2 separate regions of the Homo sapiens genome follow, and region 1 is linked to region 2. The links are contacts of gene promoters, found by promoter capture Hi-C in blood cells and fetal thymus (Javierre and others, 2016). All regions are on one chromosome and are shown on one strand. Each heading gives the region's core, a stretch centred on a gene start or on the middle of the fragment in contact. The rest is flanking DNA. Distances are from core to core; before and after follow the strand shown.

The links. The method cuts DNA at HindIII sites, captures the fragments that hold promoters and counts their contacts. A CHiCAGO score of 5 or more calls a contact.
Region 1: a contact is called between the fragment with the promoter of EGR4 here and the fragment with the promoter of MTHFD2 in region 2, in 1 of 17 cell types (fetal thymus). The highest score is 5.1, in fetal thymus.

What each region holds. Positions count from the first base shown.
Region 1 is chr2:73,291,503-73,295,249 of GRCh38, reverse strand. EGR4 (early growth response 4) reads left to right here and starts at 1,702. Exons shown (of 2, transcript NM_001965.4): 1 at 1,702-2,068; 2 at 2,469-3,747. The coding sequence starts at 1,933. RefSeq lists a silencer at 1,340-1,419 and an enhancer at 3,416-3,747. The HindIII fragment of the contact is 1,844 bases long and covers 343-2,186 here.
Region 2 is chr2:74,197,148-74,200,607 of GRCh38, reverse strand. It overlaps MTHFD2 (methylenetetrahydrofolate dehydrogenase (NADP+ dependent) 2, methenyltetrahydrofolate cyclohydrolase), which reads right to left and starts at 1,993. Exons shown (of 8, transcript NM_006636.4): 1 at 1,866-1,993. The coding sequence starts at 1,966. RefSeq lists silencers at 1,235-1,324, 1,455-1,734, 1,925-2,064 and an enhancer at 1,773-2,331. The HindIII fragment of the contact is 3,357 bases long and covers 235-3,460 here.

The sequences.
Region 1 (3,747 bases), core at 453-2,952, 910 kb after region 2:
AGAGAGGCTGGGAGCTATACTGCCCATGATGCTGAGTCCACCACCCCCAAAGGGCTTTGTTTCTATTTCAAAAAAGGAGAGAAGGAAGGAGGAGCCCTAAACCTGCCCACCTTACCCTCCAGCACACAGAGTCTCAGGAATTGATGCTCTTCATAAAGAAGAACATGCTATTCCATGTATTTATTTAATCCTTCCCCCCCATGTATTTATTTAATTTGGTTCCAGAAAGGAGTTAAGTGAGCTATAATACAAAATAAAATAAACATTTTAAAAAGAATGAGAGAATGAGACAGAGGGAAAACCACAGCAGAAGAGAGATGAGACTAGGAGAGTAGGCAAGCTTCTTTGCTGGAGTTGGCTCTGATGCTTCTGCAGCCAAGATTCACAGCCTCCTTAAGGCTAGGATTTTTTTTTTTTTTCTCAAAAGAAGCCCAATTATTTCAAGTACTGATTCCAGGGAGATATTTCCCACGGATTCCCTGTGTGTTGCTGGGATCAACATCCTTAGAGCGAAAGCCATTTGTATGAAGGCAGAAAAAATGTTCTGCAGAAGCATCTCATACCCTGTGGGTGAGGGAGGAGTGAGCAGGAATTGGCCCTACTTTTCTGGAAGACAATTTGCCAGTTGTCTATCAAAATTTTACATATACTTTGGCACACAATTACACTCGTTGGAATTTATCTCACAGACACATTCACATTTATATAGTCAAGGATGTTGACTCCAACAACATTGGTATAAGTAAAAAGTTGGAAACTGCCTACATGCTCATGGATAGGGGACAAATCGACTAACTCAAGGTCCTCCCTTACAATGGAGTACTATACAGCCTTGAAAAAGAATGACAAGATCTTTATGTCAGGACATGGCACAATCTCTAAGTTATTTCAAGTGAAAAAATAATAATAATAATAATATTGCAGAACAATGTGTATGGTTGGATATACATAAAATTCTTCTGAAAGAATACCCAAGAAACTTAAATGTGGCTACCTCAGGAGCTAGGAATGAAGGTAGGTGGAGAGGAGGGACTTTTACTTTTCAATTTAGAATATACCCTGTTGTGCTAGTTGACTTTCCTCCTACTGTTAACAAGTATTACAGTCCTTTTTAATTTAAATTATTTTTCCTAGCACAAATTTAAAAAAAAAAAACTTAAAATGGAAAAACACACAGGCGTGAGCAAAAGAAATGAATGGCAATAATCTCTGTGGTTTACTGAGTGCGCCTGGACATTTATGTGCTCTCAGTTTCTCTCCACAGGAAATGCACAGGTGAGAAACTGACGTTAAGGGGGACTGAGTGTCAAGCTAGTTAGTGGCAGAGGGCAGATTCAAACCCAACACGGTCCTCCCCTGCTGCCCCTCGGCCTCTGCCTCCAGGTGGGAAGCGCATCTACCGGACGGTCGGCCCGGTGAGGCGCAGCGCCCCAGACTGGCGCATCCGCGGCCCCAGCGCTCCACGCCTGGGGAGCGCGCGCGCACGCAGCGGCGCGAGCCTGGCGGCGGCGGCGACAACAACAACGTCACAGCTCGAGCTTTCCTTTTCGGGAGTCCCCGGCACACATCCTGTGTCCATGTTTGGGCATTTACGTCACGGCGGCAGGGCCGGGGCCTCCCAAAATGGCAGTGGCCCGGGGAGTCGGAAGCCCGGAGCCAGCGCCGCCGCAGCTATATAAGTGGGGGGGCTGTGGGCTGGGGGAGCCCGGCAGCGCTTTGGAGAGGCGAGGAGCCGCCGCCCGAGGCCGGTGCGGGCGAGCGAGGGCGCCGCGGCTCCCCGACTCCTTTCCCAGAGGTGAGTGCCCGAAGCCAGGAGCCCGGGCGCCTAGGTCTGTGCGCTGCGGGGAACCCCTACCGCCAGCCTCCCCGCCACCCGCGCGCCCCCAAGCCCAGCGGGCGAGGCCCCGGGCGCCCCACAGCCGGCGCCGCGCCATGCTCCACCTTAGCGAGTTTTCCGAACCCGACGCGCTCCTCGTCAAGTCCACTGAAGGCTGTTGCGCCGAACCCAGCGCTGAATTGCCCCGGCTGCCTGCCAGGGACGCTCCCGCGGCCACCGGCTACCCTGGAGGTAAGGAGGGCGAGCAGGGGTGCTCAGACGACGACGGCGCAGCGCGGGGGCGCACCATACCTGAGAACCAGGAGGGACTGGGACATTGGAGCTATGAGAATAGGGGCGATGGGAAGCTTAGGAGTCCTGGGGTGCGCACCCCCATTCCCACCCACACTGGGCCGCCAGCGCCTCCGCAGGAACCTGTGCGGTTATCGGAGCGCCCTTTTGCCTGTGCACGTGTGTTTTGCGTGTGCATGTTTCTATGTGCTCCTTGGGACGTATGCGGGCCCCTGCTGAATCAGAATGTGCAAAAGGCACTTTGTGTATATCCGTGGGCACCAAGAGTTTTGTAGGTAGGGGCTGTGGACTCAGGTGCACCCTTTGATGTGCCCAGAGCTGATTCCTGCTCCCTCCTCAGCAGGCGACTTCTTGAGCTGGGCTTTGAACAGCTGCGGCGCAAGTGGGGACTTAGCCGACTCCTGCTTCCTGGAGGGGCCTGCGCCCACACCCCCTCCCGGCCTCAGCTACAGCGGTAGCTTCTTCATTCAGGCAGTGCCCGAACACCCGCACGACCCGGAGGCACTCTTCAACCTCATGTCGGGCATCTTAGGCCTGGCACCCTTCCCCGGTCCAGAGGCAGCAGCGTCCAGATCCCCGCTGGATGCCCCTTTTCCTGCGGGGTCCGATGCCTTGCTGCCGGGTCCGCCGGACCTTTACTCCCCGGATCTGGGCGCTGCCCCTTTCCCAGAGGCGTTCTGGGAGGCCTCGCCTTGCGCGGGTGCCCCCTCGCAGTGCCTGTATGAGCCTCAGCTCTCCCCGCCCGACGTCAAGCCCGGCCTCCGGGCGCCTCCCGCCTCGCCAGCGCTGGACGCTGTCTCTGCCTTCAAGGGTCCCTACGCGCCCTGGGAGCTGCTTTCTGTGGGGGCCCCAGGGAACTGTGGGTCACAGGGAGACTACCAGGCCGCCCCGGAGGCTCGTTTTCCCGTAATAGGGACCAAGATTGAGGACTTGCTGTCCATCAGCTGCCCTGCGGAACTGCCGGCCGTCCCAGCCAACAGACTCTATCCCAGCGGGGCCTATGACGCTTTCCCGCTGGCCCCGGGTGACTTAGGGGAGGGGGCTGAGGGCCTCCCTGGGCTCCTGACCCCTCCTAGTGGGGAGGGAGGGAGTAGCGGCGACGGCGGAGAGTTTCTGGCCAGTACGCAGCCTCAGCTTTCCCCGCTGGGCCTTCGCAGCGCCGCCGCGGCGGACTTCCCTAAACCTCTGGTGGCGGACATCCCTGGAAGCAGTGGCGTGGCTGCACCACCCGTGCCGCCGCCGCCGCCCACCCCTTTCCCCCAGGCCAAGGCGCGACGCAAGGGGCGCCGCGGCGGCAAATGCAGCACGCGCTGCTTCTGCCCGCGGCCGCACGCCAAGGCCTTCGCTTGCCCGGTGGAGAGTTGTGTGCGGAGCTTTGCGCGCTCCGACGAGCTCAATCGCCACCTGCGCATCCACACGGGCCACAAACCCTTCCAGTGCCGCATCTGCCTCCGCAACTTCAGCCGCAGCGACCACCTCACCACGCACGTGCGCACCCACACCGGCGAGAAGCCTTTTGCTTGCGACGTGTGCGGCCGCCGCTTCGCGCGCAGCGATGAGAAGAAACGGCACAGCAAGGTGCACCTCAAGCAGAAGGCGCGCGCCGAGGAGCGGCTCAA
Region 2 (3,460 bases), core at 744-3,243:
CTCCAACCATAGGTTTATGTTCCTGAAACTCTCATACCATCCAACAAAGAAAAAAAAAAAAAGAATGCAGACTCATATTTTTAAAAGGATACAACTTTTTAAAAATAAGCAGTATTTAAAAATAAACAGTATTTTAAAAAATAAGCAGCAGTAAGAAAGCAATATGTGGGAATTGTAAATAGCAAATGTGCAGTACAGATAATATGGATTGCTTTCAGAGATGTGGATGAAGCTTACTTGTTCTTTCAGAAAGGTAGTGAAAAGAGCATTTGTTATTGGAGAGTGTAGACAAACTGGCCCAGTTCTTTAGGTAATGAATGAGAGCATCTTTATAAATCTCTTTTGGACCATGGAAGCCTAGGAAAGGTCTGGTCCACAGTCACATGAGGCCAGCACTCAGGAAGAGGGAGAAGGGGAGAAAACACACAGTAACGAAACATGGGGGAGGTCAAGAGTCAGACCAGGGAAAACCCTGAAAGTCCCCTCCCACGTTTTCCTTCAAGAACTCATTGCTCCAACAAGCAGCGCCTTTGAAATATTTCTAACAGCATTTCCGCACTGACTGGAAATTACACGCGTGTTCTGCCCCTTGTCAGGAACATGAGCTCCATTAAGAACAGTTTTTCTCATCTTTGAATTCGCACAGCTTGGCATAGTGTCTGGTACACAGTGAACGTTAGATGAAAAAAAGAAGGGGCTGATGTTGTAAGGTGCAGGGCTCTAACAATGCCAACAATGCCAGCGCTCTAATGACCGACCAAATCACCTTCCCAAGGAAACCCAAAAATGCAAACAGAGCTTTTCCTTTCCTCCTCCCCTGTATATTTTTCCCAATTTTGTTATTGTGGTAAAATTCACATAACATAAACCTTATCAACTTTTTTTTTTTTTTTTTTTTTTGAGACAGGGTCTCGCTCTGTCGCCCAGACTGGAGGGCAGTGGTGCAATCACGGCTCACTGCAGCCTCGAACTCCTGGGCTCAAGCGATTCTCGTGCCTCAGCCTCGGCGCGTGTCACCACGCCCGGCCCATCTTAACCATTTTTAAGTGCAGTTCAGTGGTATTAAATACGTTCATATGTTGTGCAACCATCACCACCATCCATCTTCAGAACTCTTCATCTTGTAAAACTGAAATTCTGCAAGTACCGCTGAAATATGGGTACTTGTCACTCTCCATTCCCCCTTTCCCTAAGGCCCTGGGAGCCTCCCGGATGTTTGCCACCTCTATGTACGCAGCCCGGCACTGACAGGCTCTGGTGGGCTGCAGCCAAAGCTAGGGTGCCCAGAGTCCGTTCATGTTCCTGGCAGAGCGGAGGCAGCGCGGGCCACTCCCACCGGCGGAGGGAGGAGGGCGGCGCGGGGACCCCGAGCAAGTCGGCTCCGCGATTTCATCAGCTGCAGCAGCGCCCTCCGCCGCTAGGGTCCCCGCAAGGACAACTCGCCGAGGGCTGCTCTTTTGGAACCCTCGCCTGTTCTCCCCCAGACGACTCTCAGCATCCCAGCCAGAGGCGGCCGGCGCTGTCGGAAGGCTCCGCGTAAACTGATGCCTTCGCGTTCCGCACGCCACCCCCGTCCCGCCCGCCGACTGGCCACGGGCCCCGGCGACGCCCCGAGTCGCAGGAGAGCGGCTCCCTCCGAAAGGCGGGCTTCGGGTACCAGCCCTCCGCGCCGAGGAAGCGCCCCAGTCGAGAGCTGCGGCGGCGCTCGGTGCCACGTCGCCCCGCCACACCCCTCAGCGGCCACCACCGCCGGGGCGGAGATGTTCGGGAAGGACTTCCCTCGGTGTCCCTCGGGGGCCCGGCGTGCCCCTCGCCCTCCGTTCCCCTCAGCTTTCCGCGCTGACCGAGCTCTGTGACCCTCTTACCGAACTGCCGCGAGGTGGAAAGGGCGAAGGCGAAGGGAGCAGCTGTGCGCGGGCTGCAGCAGCCGGGCAGCCAAAGCAGACATTAGAGAAGTCGCAGCCATAGACCGCGCCGGTGACTGCGCCGGGAGGGAAGCGCGCGCGCGGGCCACGCGGTTATACTGCGGCCTCGTGGCAGGCCCCGCCTCCCTCCGCCACCCATTGGTCCCTGCCGCATGCCACTGGCTGTCTGTTGAGCCAGGTGGAGCCGAAGGGGCCAACCGGTTTTCTTTATTAAACGTAAGCGAAGTCCGAAAGAGCCCTGCTTTTGATTGGAGCCAGAAGAGCCTGGAGCGAGGTCCTGTAAGGCGCTGAAGCCTCGGCAACGTGCCATGATAGGCTGAGGAAGTCAAACTCCTGCCTGACGCCGCTAGTGTCACCGAAGGCCGGACAACACAAGAGAAAAGTTCATTCATTCATTCGTTGAACAATTATATGAGCGCCTACTGTGTGCCAAGCACTGTAAAGGGTGGATGAAAAGACAAGCTGATAGAATGCCAACGAACAGAAGTAAAAGGAATGATGGAGTTAGAAAATCACCATTTTCCAAAATCAGTACATGGTGGCGCGTGACTACAGTACCAGCTACTGGGGAGGCTGAGGTGGAAGGATCACCTGAGTTCAGGAGGTTGAGGCTGCAGTGAGCTGAAGGCGCGCCACTGCACTCCAGCCTGGGCGACGAGAGTGAGACCATATCTCAAAACAACAACAAAAAAAGTAAAATCATAAAAGATATTCAGAGACAGACGTCAGGGTTGCATGTGCAACCCTGATTCAGAAGCAGCAATAGATGTCAAAACAACTGGGTGAAAGTTGGATGAGGAGCAAGATATTTACATATAGGGTTGCCAGATCTAGCAAATAAAAACACAAGATGCCCAATCAAATCAGAATTTTAGATAAACACTTTGGGAGGTCATATTTATACTTTATTTATGGCTTATCTGGAATTCAGATTCAACTGGGCTTCCTGTATTTTTTCCCGCAAACTTTTTGCATAGTCTCAAAGTATCTCTCCCGCAAGGAAACTTAAGGAGGGCAGGGCGCGGTGGCTCACTTCTGTAATCCCCAGCTCTTTGGGAGGCCAAGGCGGACGGATCACCTGAGGCCAGGAGTTCGAGACCAGCCTGGCCAATGTGTTGAAACCCCCGTCTCTACTAAAAACACAAAAAATTATCTGAGCATCGTGGCGGACGCTGTAATCCCAGCTACTGGGGAGACTGAGGCATGAGAATCGCTTGAATCTGGGAGGCAGAGGTTGCAGGGAGCCGAGACTGTGCCACTGCACTTCAGCCTGGGCAACAAAAAGACTCTGTCTCAAAAAACAAAACAAACAAACAAAGAACAGGGGAAACCAATCCTGTCAACACCTTGACCTTTACTTCTAGCCTCCAGGAAGGAAAGGAAAATGGTAAATTTACAGTGAAGAAACATGACAGTTACTGCTTCAACCACGTGATCAAAGTTAGCACCACCCAGTAAGGGAACACACATATATGCCTTCTGATAGGATCCATTGAGGAGACACATCACTTCGTAGCTCTTAACAAGTCTGTAAA